Regions from separate parts of the Homo sapiens genome. Here all the other regions are linked to region 2. Evidence: promoter capture Hi-C in 16 types of primary human blood cells and fetal thymus (Javierre and others, 2016). All regions are on one chromosome and are shown on one strand. The core of a region is centred on a gene start or on the middle of the fragment in contact, and the rest is flanking DNA. Distances in the headings are between cores, read along the strand shown.

Region 1 (3,002 bases), core at 1-2,500, 260 kb before region 2:
CCCTGTCTCTACTAAAAATACAAAAATTAGCTGGGCATGCCCACTACTCGGGAGGCTGAGGCAGGATAATCACTTGAACCCAGGAGGCGGAAGTTGCGGTGAGCGGAGATCGCGCCACTGCACTCTAGCATGGACAATAGAGCGAGACTCTGTTTCAATAAATAAATAAATAATGCCAGTTGCAACTCACTAAATTGATTTCATAGCCCACTAATAGATCACAATCCGGTTTGAAAAGCAGTTAAGCTAGTCATCTCATTTTTAGACCAGCCCAGGTAGGTGCTAATGGTTATGCAGCAAATTAGTGACAGAGTCCAAGCTAAAACTCAGTTCTCAGAAGTCCAGATGATTAGTCCTTCCACTTAGAACAGTACTGTCTCCGATTGTGTAGCAAGATATGACACGGAGAATTCTAAAATTTACAAGTGAGAGGGACTCCGTAGATCAAACAGGTGATCCATTATTTTTTAAAGCAGCAGAACTCTTTAAACTCTAGAAGCAACCACAAAATATGTTTTAAAGATGAGAGTGGAGAGCAGGCTCTGAGCCTGAGGCGCCTTGTTGAACCTCTGCCAATGTTTCAGAACTAGGGTTCAATCCTTACGATTTGGGACCATGCAAAGCCTGTTAAATCACCGGACGGGCAAAACGCAATTTCCTACGCATTTCTGTGCTGCTCCCCCACACCCCTGAGCTCGCATGGGAGGGTAGGTGAAAAAGTTAAGGTCCTGGAACCAAGTGGAGGAATGAGTCACGGGGATTATCAGTTCCACGAGCCACGGGGATTACAAGTGGCAGGGCGGGTGCCAACACCTTGCAAACCAAGGACAATGACCACACCCTTGGGACTACTATTCCCGGGGCCTACTAGGGCAAAGGCTATCGACAGTGTTGCACACTAAAGCGGGGCTCCTCCACGTGCAAGGAAGCCCTCCTAGTACTTTACATATGGGGAAACTAAGGCCCACGTCTGGTAGCGGCTGCCTTGGCAAAATGAGAACCCAAATCTGTGAGAAAGCCTCGAGTGCAGCCCCGGACCCCAGGGTCCCTCCTGCTACCTTGTTTGAGAACCTTCTTCCTGGCCTCCTTGTCAGTTACCAGGGGCGCTGGGGGCCGTTTGACATCTTCGGAGAAAGGATTCGGGGAGCTGCCAGAGAATAGTCCCAAGTAAACTTTGCAGAGGACGGCCAGCAGCAGCACAGCCAGGAGCAGCACCAGCGGAAGCCACATCACGCCGGCGTCGGGTCGGGTAAATGGGACAGCTCCGACTGCGCTCAGCCTCTAGGACTGTGGCTCCGCCCGGGCTAGTTCGCTCTCCAGTCAGGAGGCGGAGGCAGCTTTGAGCACTGATTAACCAGCCAGCCAGCGAAGAGCCAACTCTCAGGTGATGATTGACCCTCCCGGCTCTCCGTACTTCTTTTGGGTTTCCATTGCCTACTGGGAAATGTAGTTCTCGGGGCCAGGGGAGCCGGCACGGAAGCGGCTGTGCGCATGAGCAGATGAGGCCTAGCCGAGGCGGCGGGACCCCCAAGTTTGGAAAGCTCTTTTAACGGTGAGAACGCGTTAACACTTGCCAAGGGGAGTGGTTGGTGCCTGTGCGGAGCTAGCAGCCGGCCTGAGGAGGGAGGGAGAATGTGATCCGGTGGAAATTATCACTATGGGGCGAGACAAGGCCGAGAGTTGTAAGACTGAAAGAGAATCCCGACTGGGAGACAGGAGTCCTGAGTTCTGGTCCTGGCTCTGCCCTGGACTCGCTGCCTTGAGGTGTTAAATTGCTTTCCTCGTCTTACGCCTCCAGGCTATGCGAAAGTTCTGTCCAAAGGCTGCTCACAGCCCCTGTCTGACTGGTTGTCATGATGAATTGAGCTCTCTGTTACCTGCGCATCACAACCGGTGAGCGTCTGTCTCTGTGCCCCTCAAAGTGGCCCATAGTTTTGTCCTGGGGGCCCGCCTGGGACGGAGTCCTCTATGGCGGGTCCCTAATGACACCCCATCCGTGGGGAACCTGGGGGACGGGGAGCCGCCCATGGACAAGCATGGTGAAAGGATCAGCTAAGGGCCCATCTAATTTAAATTCCTATGCAGAGAATCTAACCTCCAGCAAGCAGTTGAAGAATCATACCCCCTCCTTGCCTAAAGAGGGTGCATAATGAATACTTGATTGGAGAAGGATCCATTTTTACAGGAAGGCCGTTTCCTTAGGTCCAACTATCAGGAATTTGCCTTTGAGTACTTCCTTGTTTAATGGAATTGTTGCTCTTTTCTTCTCTGCTACAGATAGTAACTGTCCCTACTGAAGGCCCCAGGAGTGCTCCAGCCAGGTGTGGAAAGCTGGTCACGATTCTATGCTACTTGGTTCATTTTCTACACAGCAACAGAAGAGCCCTCCTGAGATTGCTATTACCATACCCGCCTGTCACCTTGCCAAGGCTGGCCAATGTGTGTTTTGTCATAGGCTGTCATGGAGGCCATGATGGAGGAAAAGGAAAGGGGAGGCAGATGTTGAGGCCCCAGAGGCCACAGTGAGAGCAGTTTAGTTCCTGGGGTGCCAGGACTAAGGGGGCATTGCCCTGTCCCCCGGATTACAGTGAGCCACATGTCAAGCCCAAGAGCCAGGAGGTATTCTTCCTCTCAGTGTTAATAATCAAAGCATCCTGACACCAGCAGCCAGTTTTTATGGCATCCTGGAGGGCTGACCTCATAGAGAGGCTACCCTCCTTCCTTAGTCACCCAAAGTTGTGAACTATGATTGTCAGTTGTGTGTGGGCCATCTGCCCACTTAGGATGCAATTTTTGATGTGACAGACATTCCGGATGTCCAATTCCCCTGTGATGAGGTATGAGCCTTGTCCAGCCCTTTTCCTGAGGGAAGCAATGTCAGATGAAAGACTTAGAATTGCCCAAACTGGCTAGCCAGCTGCCACATGCACAGTATTGCTGATAACTGAGAAAGGTTAGAACATCGTGTTGCATTTTGAATTTCTACCATTGTTGGAACCAGG
Region 2 (2,700 bases), core at 188-2,687:
CTAATGCCTAACAAAGGTAGTGGCACACACCTATAATCCCAGCACTTTGGGAGGCCGATGCGGGCAGATCACCTGAGCTCAGGAGTTCGAGATCAGCCTGGACAACGTGGAGAAACCCCTTCTCTCTCTCTCTTTTTTTTTTTTTTTTGAGACCGAGTCTTGCTGTGTTGCCCAGGCTGGAGTGCAGTGGCGCGATCTCGGCTCACTGCAAGCTCCGCCTCCCGGGTTCACGCCATTCTCCTGCCTCAGCCTCCCGAGTAGCTGGGACTACAGGCGCCCACCACCACGCCCGGCTAATTTTTTGTATTTTTAGTAGAGACGGGGGTTTCACCATGTTAGCCAGGATGGTCTCGATCTCCTGACCTCGTGATCCGCCCGCCTCGGCCTCCCAAAGTGCTGGGATTACAGGCGAGAGCCACCGCGCCCAGCCGGGGAAACCCCTTCTCTACAAGAAATACCAAAATTAACCGGTGTGGTGGCACACGCCTGTGGTCCCAGGTACTCGGGAGGCTAAGGCTGCAGTAAGCCCAGATCGCACCATTGCACTCCAGCCTGGGCGACAGAGACCTAGTCTCAAAAATAAAATAAAAACATTTTAAAAAAAGTAATAATGCTTAACAAAAATTGACCGTCATATATTAACCAGTGTGATCTCTAGGTAGCAGAGAAGCTGGGGAAAGGCCATTTACTGGGTTCATTCCGCAATTATGTGCTGGTCGCTCATCGCTGTGCCAGACTTTCTCTTTGCTAGGTAGCGGAGCACCTTACTAAAATACAGCACGGTGGGGCAAACCGGCAGATAAACTTCTTGCTGGCTCCCCGATACTCTGACAGCGATGCTTAACTGGGGGCTTATGAGTCGTCCCAGTTCTTGGTGAGAATCATTCAGCGGAGATTTGGGAGCGCTGAGGTGGAGGTTCCGGAAAGAGACGAGATGAGCTGAACCTTAGGAGTAAGAAGTGGTTTTTCCCTATAGAGAAGGGGAGTGCGTTGCAGGAAGAGCGCGCGGGCTGGAGGCAGGCGGGGCGGGCGGCCTCACCTCGGTGTCGCGGCAGGTACACCTGCAGGTCTGGCTTGCGGGGCCGCGTCGGCGCGGGCGTGTGCCGCCTCCTCACCTTCTCCTTGGCCGCCTGCTTCACCTTCTTGTCATAGTCGTCCCTGCGGGGAGCCGAGCGGGAGTCAGGGACTGTCGGGCCGGGCCAGGCCAGGCCAGGAGTGGTGGCGGCGGCGGCGCAGGGCGGGGCGGTACCGAGCGATCTGGTTCCGTCGGATATGGTGCACGAAGCCGTGGTTCATGTCCAGCCGCCCCCCAGGCTTGCAGCAGTGCCCCGGCCGGGGATGCGGCCCCGCCTCCATCAGGAGCCGGGGACGCAGAGTCGCCGCCGCCTCGACGGCCCCAACAACAGCCACCCGCCCACAGAGCTCCGCGCCGCCCCTTGCTCAGCTTCCGGCCCCGCATCCTGACTTCCGGTCTGGGAGGCCCCGGCCTGGCCAAGCGATGCAGCGCACGGAGTTTTCGGGTCTGGTCGGGTCGGGTGGAGTAGGGTATGCTTGACTTCCACCCCCCGGACGGAGGGCTTTTGTTTTTGTTTTTTTTTGTTTGTTTTTTCGTAACATATCAATAGGAAACAAGGACTTCGGCTTACAGCTGATACCAGAACCTTCAGAAAAATGCAAATCATCTATAACACAACTCGATGCTTACGGCGGTGCCTTCCCATCTTTTTTCTGGTAATAGGATGCTGTGCAATCCATCGCCATCTGCGTGACTTTGGCTGACTGTGTAACGCTGCCACTTCTCAGTTTCCTCATTAGTAAATGGGAACACCTAGAGCACCTACCTCAAATGGATTGTGAGGCCTTGAAGTGCTCAGGCAGGGCAACAGCGGCGCCCAGGCCGCAGGCGCCGCGAAGGCTCTCCTGGCCCGGCTTGCCTCCTGCTCACGGCGCCGATGGCTTAACTGTCCCCGCGGGAGGACCCAGGGTTTTTGAGGGACCTACGGGTGTATTATTTTCTTTTTTATTTATTTTTCCTTTTTTTTTTCTTTTTGAGAAGGAGTCTCACTCTGTCGCTCAGGCTGGAGTGCATTGGCGTGATTTCGGCTCACTGCAACCTCCGCCTCCCGGGTTCAAGCGATTCTCCTGCCTCAGCCTCCCGAGTAGCTGGGACTACATGCGCGTGCCACCACGCCCGGCTAAGTTTTGTATTTTTGGTAGAGATAAGGTTTCACCACGTTGGCCAGGCTGGTCTCGAACTCCTGACCTCAGGTGATCCGCCTGCCTCGGCCTCCCAAAGTGTTGGGATTGCAGGCATGAGCCACCGTGCCCGGCCCCTTTTTTTTTTTTTTCTATTTTTTCTGACCACTGGGTTCACGTCACAGCGTGTAAAATTCTCAAGTCCTTTTACAAAAGTCAAAATCAGGAATTCATGATTAGGACAGGGACAAACGGCTGGATGCAGTGGCTCATGTCTGTAATTCCAAAACTTTGGGATGCCGAAGTGGGAGTATCGCTGGAGGGAGGAATTTGAGACCAGCCTGGGCAACACAGCGAGACATCGTCTCTACAAGAAAAAAATACATTAAAAAAGAAAGAAAGAGCCGGGCGTGGTGGCTCACGCCTGTAATCCCAGCACTTTGGGAGGCCCAGGCGGGCAGATCAAGAGGTCAGGAGTTCGAGACTAGCCTGGCCAAAATGGTG
Region 3 (2,962 bases), core at 77-2,576, 450 kb after region 2:
ACTAGGAAAAAAAAAAGAGCAAATTAAACCAAAGTAAACAGAAGAAAGGGAGTGATAAAGTTCAAATCAACGAAACAGAAAACAGAAAAATAAAGTCAATAAAACCAAAGACTTTTTTTTGAGAATAAAACTGATAAACCTCTAGGCAAACTGATCAGGAAAAAAGAGAAGACACAAATTATCAATGTCAGGAATGAGAGAAGTGACACCACTACAGGCAATACAGATAGAAAAGGTCAACAAAGGAGCATTATGAACAACTTTGTGCCTATAAATTCAGTAACTTAGATGAAATGGACAAATTCCCTGAAAAACACAAACAATTAAAGCTCATTCAAGAAGTAGATAACCAAAAATAGCTCTATGTCTACTAAAGAAATAGAAATTTTAATTGAAAATCTTCCCACAGGTTGGGCGCGGTGGCTCAGGCCTGTAGTCCCAGCACTTTGGGAGGCCAAGGTTGGTGGATCACCTGAGGTTGGGAGTTCGAGCCCAGCCTGACCAACATGGAGAAACCCCATCTCTACTAAAAATACAAAATTAGCCGGGCATGGTGGCGCATGCTTGTAATCCCAGCTACTTGGGAGGCTGAGGCAGGAGAATTGCTTGAATCTGGGAGGTGGAGGTTGCGGTGAGCCAGGATCACACCATTGCATTCCAGCCTGGGCAGCAAGAGCAAAACTCCATCTCAAAAAAAAAAAAAAAAAAAAAAAAAAAGAAAGAAAACCTTGCCACAAAGAAACTCTAGGCCCAGATGCCTTCACTGGTGAATTCTACAACACATTTAAGGAATAAATAATATGAATACTGTACTACACAAACTCTTACAGAAAACCAGAGGAAATACCTCCTAACACCTCATTCTGTGAGGCCAGGATTACCCTGATACCAAAACCAAACAAACATATTATAAGAAAATAAAACTACAGACCAATATCTATCACAAACACAGAAGTAAAAAAATTCTAGACAAAATATTAGCAAATTGAATTCAATAATATATAAAAAGGATAATACCTCACGACCAAGGAAGGTTTATCCAGGAATGCAAGGTTGGCTTAAAAAGGAAAATCAAGTTCCAGGTCCACAGACTAAGAACTGGAGAGCAGGAAGAGACCTTAGAGATCATGAACTTGAAGCTGAAGTCATTGATTTGGGACCCTTTTTCTTCTTTTCAACCTAGGCATTTTATGTATAAATTTCCCCCTTAAGTTCTGCTTCAGTGGCATCCCACAAATTTTGTTGTGTTTTCATTTCATCTACTTCAGAATGCTTTCTAATTTCCCTTTAGATTCTTTTGACCCATGAGCTATTTAAGAAGTACGTTATTTAGAAGTACAAATATTGAGGGCTTTTCCAAATATCTTGGTTGCTGATTTCCAAATTCCATTATGCCCAGAGGCCACATCTTGAATCCTTTTAAAATCCTCTGTACCAAATAAAATTAGGAAATAGGTCCAGGTTTTGCTTCTGTCACGGGTGAGATTTTTTAGTGTGTCTCTAAAGGTTGGTACGGGCTTTTTTTTTGCCAACAGGTGAAAAGGGCAAGAGTGACTACACTATGCAAGAATTTGTTTGTGGGTTAGTCTGGTTTCAAAGAGAAAAACCATGTTTAGAATCAGAACTTAGCTTAGCAAGTTAATTTCTACTGTCCCAGGAAATGATGAGGAACTGAGACACACAGGGCTAAGATCACATAGCCAATTAGAAGTTGATCCTTAAGGCTGAACTTGGATACTCAGGCAACAGCAGAAGAACATATTTTACTGTTTTTCATTATTTGGTCGCCACATATCATGTAATTTGGTTACTTTGAGAGGAAGTATGGTATGATGCTTCTGGGGTTGAAAAGTCCTGGGTTTGATCTGTCTCCTGTAGTCTTGGGCATGTAATTTATCATCTCCTAAATGGAGATAATAATGGTGTCTGCATTGCAGATTAGTCGTGAGTATTAAATCAGATAATGTGTCTAAAGCACTCAGCAAACATATGGAACTTCCCAACAAATATTACTATTACTCCACCAGCACCACTGCCTATTACCACCATATTTGTATTATGAGGACACCAAATTTAAGTTAGAAGCAAAGGACAGAAACTATGCAGTCTACTTTTTTTTTTTTTGTGGAGACGGAGTCTCACTCTGTTGCCCAGGCAGGAGTGCAGTGGCTGATCCTGACTCACTACAACCTCCACCTCCTGGGTTCAAGCGATTCTCTTGCCTCAGGCTGAGGCGATTCTCTTGCCTCAGCCTCCCGGTAGCTGAGATTACAGGCACTAATCCCACGCCCAGCTAATTTTGTACTTTTAGTAGAGATAGGGTTTCACCATGTTAGCCAGGCTGGTCTCAAACTCCAGACCTCAGGTGATCTGCCCGCCTCAGTCTCCTAAAGTGTTGGGATTACAGGTGTGAGCCACTGCACCAGGCTACTATGCAGTCTACTCTTGCTAGACACTCCCTTGAAGCCACCCAGACTCAGGAACCCCAAACAAAGGGGAAAGAAAGTCAGACTATTGCTGGCTTAGCCATTTCTCTGTCTCTGGTCTGGACTCTTCTGAGAATAAAACCTTTTACATGAGTGGCCTATTTCCTTTTGTTACATACACTGGCTGTTCTCTCCCAATTACCTGTTTTCCTGTCCACAGCGGAAAGGGCTTCAGGATGGAAGGAGAAAGGAGCTTCACGCGCCCCACTTTGTCCGTGAGTCCTCGGTACACCAGCTCCATATAGTGCTCCCGGGTGAAAAAGCAACCCCGAGTAGTCATGCTTGCCCCTGAAACCATGTGATCCTGGATCAGTCCCGCCAATGGTTGGCCATCCTATAAGCCAAAACAGACAACACAAGAAGAATGAAAATAAATCTTAAGTCAAACTCTAATCCCTAATCGCCTGCCTGGAAGCCACTTTCTATCAAGAGCCCTTCTTATATCCCTGTCTTGTCTTGCCCACATCCTCACTATG
Region 4 (2,795 bases), core at 16-2,515, 430 kb after region 2:
GCCCCCAGAATGTCACATATCCACTCTGGGACTGTTACCACAAGCCCCCTAAGCAGGAGAATTTCTGGGTTCATTATTCACTTTTTCCTTTATCCATTCTTTCTTCTCAATTATGACAATTTGGAGACAGTTTAAACCTCCTGCTATAAAAATTAGAAAGAGGTTCACTAGGCCATTATGGGGATGGGGGTGATGAGAGTGTTTATATTTTTAGTTAGTGCAAATGGCTGCAGACCACATCAGAAGTATTCATGCCGCACGATTCTGTAATTTACTAACCATTTTTCCTATGAAGCCTGACCCTGTTAAGAACAGCCACTAGGAGCGCTGAGCTACACTGTGTGTGTGTGTGTGTGTGTGTGTGTGTGTGTGTGTGTGTGCGCGCTGAGCTACAGTGTCTGTGTGTGTGTGTGTGTGTGCTGAGCTACAGTGTCTGTGTGTGTGTGTGTGTGTGTGCTGATCTACAGTGTCTGTGTGTGTGTGTGTGTGTCTGTCCTAGTCCAAGCTGAGGCCTTCAAATGGGAACCCAAAGCTCAAAGGTGTGTGTGTGTGTGCGCGCGCGCGCTGAGCTACAGTGTCTGTGTGTGTGTGTGTGTGTGTGTCTGTCCTAGTCCAAGCTGAGGCCTTCAAATGGGAACCCAAAGCTCAAAGGATTACTGGAGTAATCGGATCCAAGGCCTCATGAGAAGTTAAGACCTGGTGTCCCTGGGCATGAATGACCTGCCCTGGGTCACACGGTTGGCAGCAGGTGAACAGTGACCAGATTCCCTGACTCTCAGTCAGCCCCACCCACCACACCAAACCCAAGAGAGCAGACTTTCCTGCAAGCCTCCCAGCAGACCACTATCCCTATCTTGGCCCAGATGGGGGTGTCCACTCCTGCCTCCCTTGCACTTGTTCACTCCTGGGCCCTTGGGGCTTGTGCGTTGCCCCTGGCTGTCTTACTGCCCTCCCTCTAGCTGAAGTCTCAAACCCAGGAGGCAGCCCTCTTCCGGAGTGAGTAGGGCAGGGGCTAGGAGGCAGGGGCTAGGAGGCAGATTCTCCTGCACATGTTGTGCAACAAATCACTGTCAATACCTGTCGAGAGAAAGCTCTGATTTCTCATAACTCTTCTCTGTTTGAGCTGCCCACTCTTGACTGTAGTCATCAACCTTTGTTTCAAATGTTTCTGACACTGATGCAAAGTAGATGTCAGGACGCCAGACAGACAGACTGGGGTCAGGACAAGCGGCCGCCTTCTTCTGGTATTTCCTTCGGCTTTCCTCATCCAACTCATACCACATCCTCAGCATCTGAACAGAAGGATGGGTCTCAGCTATGTGGGAGGGATACCCAGTAGCATAAGAGGGATCAAAAGCATTGGCTTCCAATGAGAATAAAGGGAGACAGAAAGAAACCTGATTGCAATGAGAAACCATCTCCCCATTTAAAATGGGGAGAGACTTCAACCTGTCCTAGGGCACCCTGCTTGACTATAAGCCTAGCAGCTCTTCATCCTGGCCCATTCAAGCCCAGGGAGGGCAAGCATGTAATTTACTGAGCAAACTGGGCTTCTTTTAGAGTGAAACAGGAGACTGTTATGATTAGGCTAGGACAAGAGGCAAAGCCACGACTGTCTCAGGCCAGCTAGGATGCAGTCACTGTGCTGGATCCATGGTTATTTCTGGATCCAGGCTCTTTCACACGCTCTGTGCCCTCAAGGCTGTCCCAAAGTGACTGCTTCAAAGAGATCCCCTGCTTCCAGCTCCCAGGTGTGCTTGGCTGATGGGAGGCACCAGCAGCAGAGGGAAAGGCAGGAGGAAGGGGATCCTGGTATTTATCCTCAACCCCCCTCTAGTGGGTCTCTACCCAGGGCTCTGTCCAGTGGCCCTAGCACATAGTCGTCCTCTCCGTTTCTCATGACTGCTCCCCATTCCTTCACACCTGGGATCGCGGGGAACCCCGAAGTCACAGGCCCCAGTTAGTCCCCCCAAACCCTGCCTACACCCTTGTTAAGAGTCCCCACCTTACATTCCCATTTGAGAGCCATTCTGTTCTGACTGACGGTGAACAAAGCTGGAGTTCATGATTCTACCTTCTCTTAGGAAAACAGCCCCTCATCCCTCACCCACTGACTAAGCCTGGACGTGCTGGACATTAAGGACACCACCTCCCTGCATCACCTCCTGAGTCCCAGGGCTGCGGCCATTGCGGTTTTCACTCTCAAGTTTCAGGGCTTTCACAGCTTCCTGAATTTTCTGGGAATAACTCAAGAAGGCGCCTCTTCTCAGCAGGGTGTTGGGGTGCTTGCTTTGCCATTTTTTGATAGCTCTGAAGTGGTGGAGAGCTTTTTTGGGATCTGCTCTGGATAAAACTTCATGGAGATGCTGTGATTTCATTATCACCTAAACAAACAAACAAAAAAACAAACAAACAAATCACACACATGAGATCAAAGAGATGAGGGCGTGACAAGAGGGCCATGGAGCACAAATTCAGGGGACCCAGGTGGCTGGTGTGGAGCCCTCATGATGGGGCCGAGCACCACTCTCAGAGAGGCTGAGCATCCATTGTTAATCAGGGCCCTCACTTTGTGCAAACCAGATTTGGGAACCAATGGTCTTGGGAGCAGAGGGAGACACAGGAAAGAAAGCAGCACACTCAGAGCCCCTCCAGGAGCACAAGGGAGTTTCTGGGAAGAAAGGAAGAGGGGAAGAGTGATGGCCAAGCTCAGGGATAGGAACCAGGATGGAAAGGACTCAGCACCAGAGCACAACCCTCAATTCTACCATCAGCTTGATGACCTTAGACAGGTC

Evidence for each region. Contacts are between HindIII fragments. The CHiCAGO score rates a contact against its expected background, and 5 or more counts as called.
Region 1: the fragment with the promoter of RETSAT here is called in contact with the fragment with the promoter of C2orf68 in region 2 in 1 of 17 cell types (erythroblasts); the score reaches 5.0 in erythroblasts.
Region 3: a contact is called between a fragment that was not itself captured here and the fragment with the promoter of C2orf68 in region 2, in 3 of 17 cell types (M0 macrophages, erythroblasts and M2 macrophages). The highest score is 5.8, in M0 macrophages.
Region 4: a contact is called between a fragment that was not itself captured here and the fragment with the promoter of C2orf68 in region 2, in 1 of 17 cell types (neutrophils). The highest score is 6.1, in neutrophils.

The regions. Positions count from the first base shown.
Region 1 is chr2:85,353,278-85,356,279 of GRCh38, forward strand. RETSAT (retinol saturase) reads right to left here and starts at 1,251. Exons shown (of 11, transcript NM_017750.4): 1 at 1,059-1,251. The coding sequence starts at 1,230. ELMOD3 (ELMO domain containing 3) reads left to right here and starts at 1,492. Exons shown (of 14, transcript NM_001135022.2): 1 at 1,492-1,552; 2 at 1,799-1,893; 3 at 2,278-2,321. RefSeq lists enhancers at 1,253-1,754, 1,319-1,718, 1,755-2,254, 1,889-1,948. The HindIII fragment of the contact is 19,367 bases long and covers 1-3,002 here.
Region 2 is chr2:85,610,629-85,613,328 of GRCh38, forward strand. It overlaps C2orf68 (chromosome 2 open reading frame 68), which reads right to left and starts at 1,438. Exons shown (of 4, transcript NM_001013649.4): 1 at 1,250-1,438; 2 at 1,040-1,158. The coding sequence starts at 1,356. It also overlaps a transcript of USP39 not described here. RefSeq lists silencers at 1,209-1,590, 1,210-1,279, 1,766-1,938 and an enhancer at 1,550-1,779. The HindIII fragment of the contact is 26,854 bases long and covers 1-2,700 here.
Region 3 is chr2:86,062,646-86,065,607 of GRCh38, forward strand. It overlaps POLR1A (RNA polymerase I subunit A), which reads right to left. Exons shown (of 34, transcript NM_015425.6): 14 at 2,629-2,820. Among named protein-coding and RNA genes, the nearest start is that of POLR1A, 42 kb to the right of the region's middle. The HindIII fragment of the contact is 7,905 bases long and covers 1-2,962 here.
Region 4 is chr2:86,040,812-86,043,606 of GRCh38, forward strand. It overlaps POLR1A (RNA polymerase I subunit A), which reads right to left. Exons shown (of 34, transcript NM_015425.6): 23 at 2,163-2,384; 24 at 1,078-1,292. Among named protein-coding and RNA genes, the nearest start is that of POLR1A, 64 kb to the right of the region's middle. The HindIII fragment of the contact is 5,837 bases long and covers 1-2,795 here.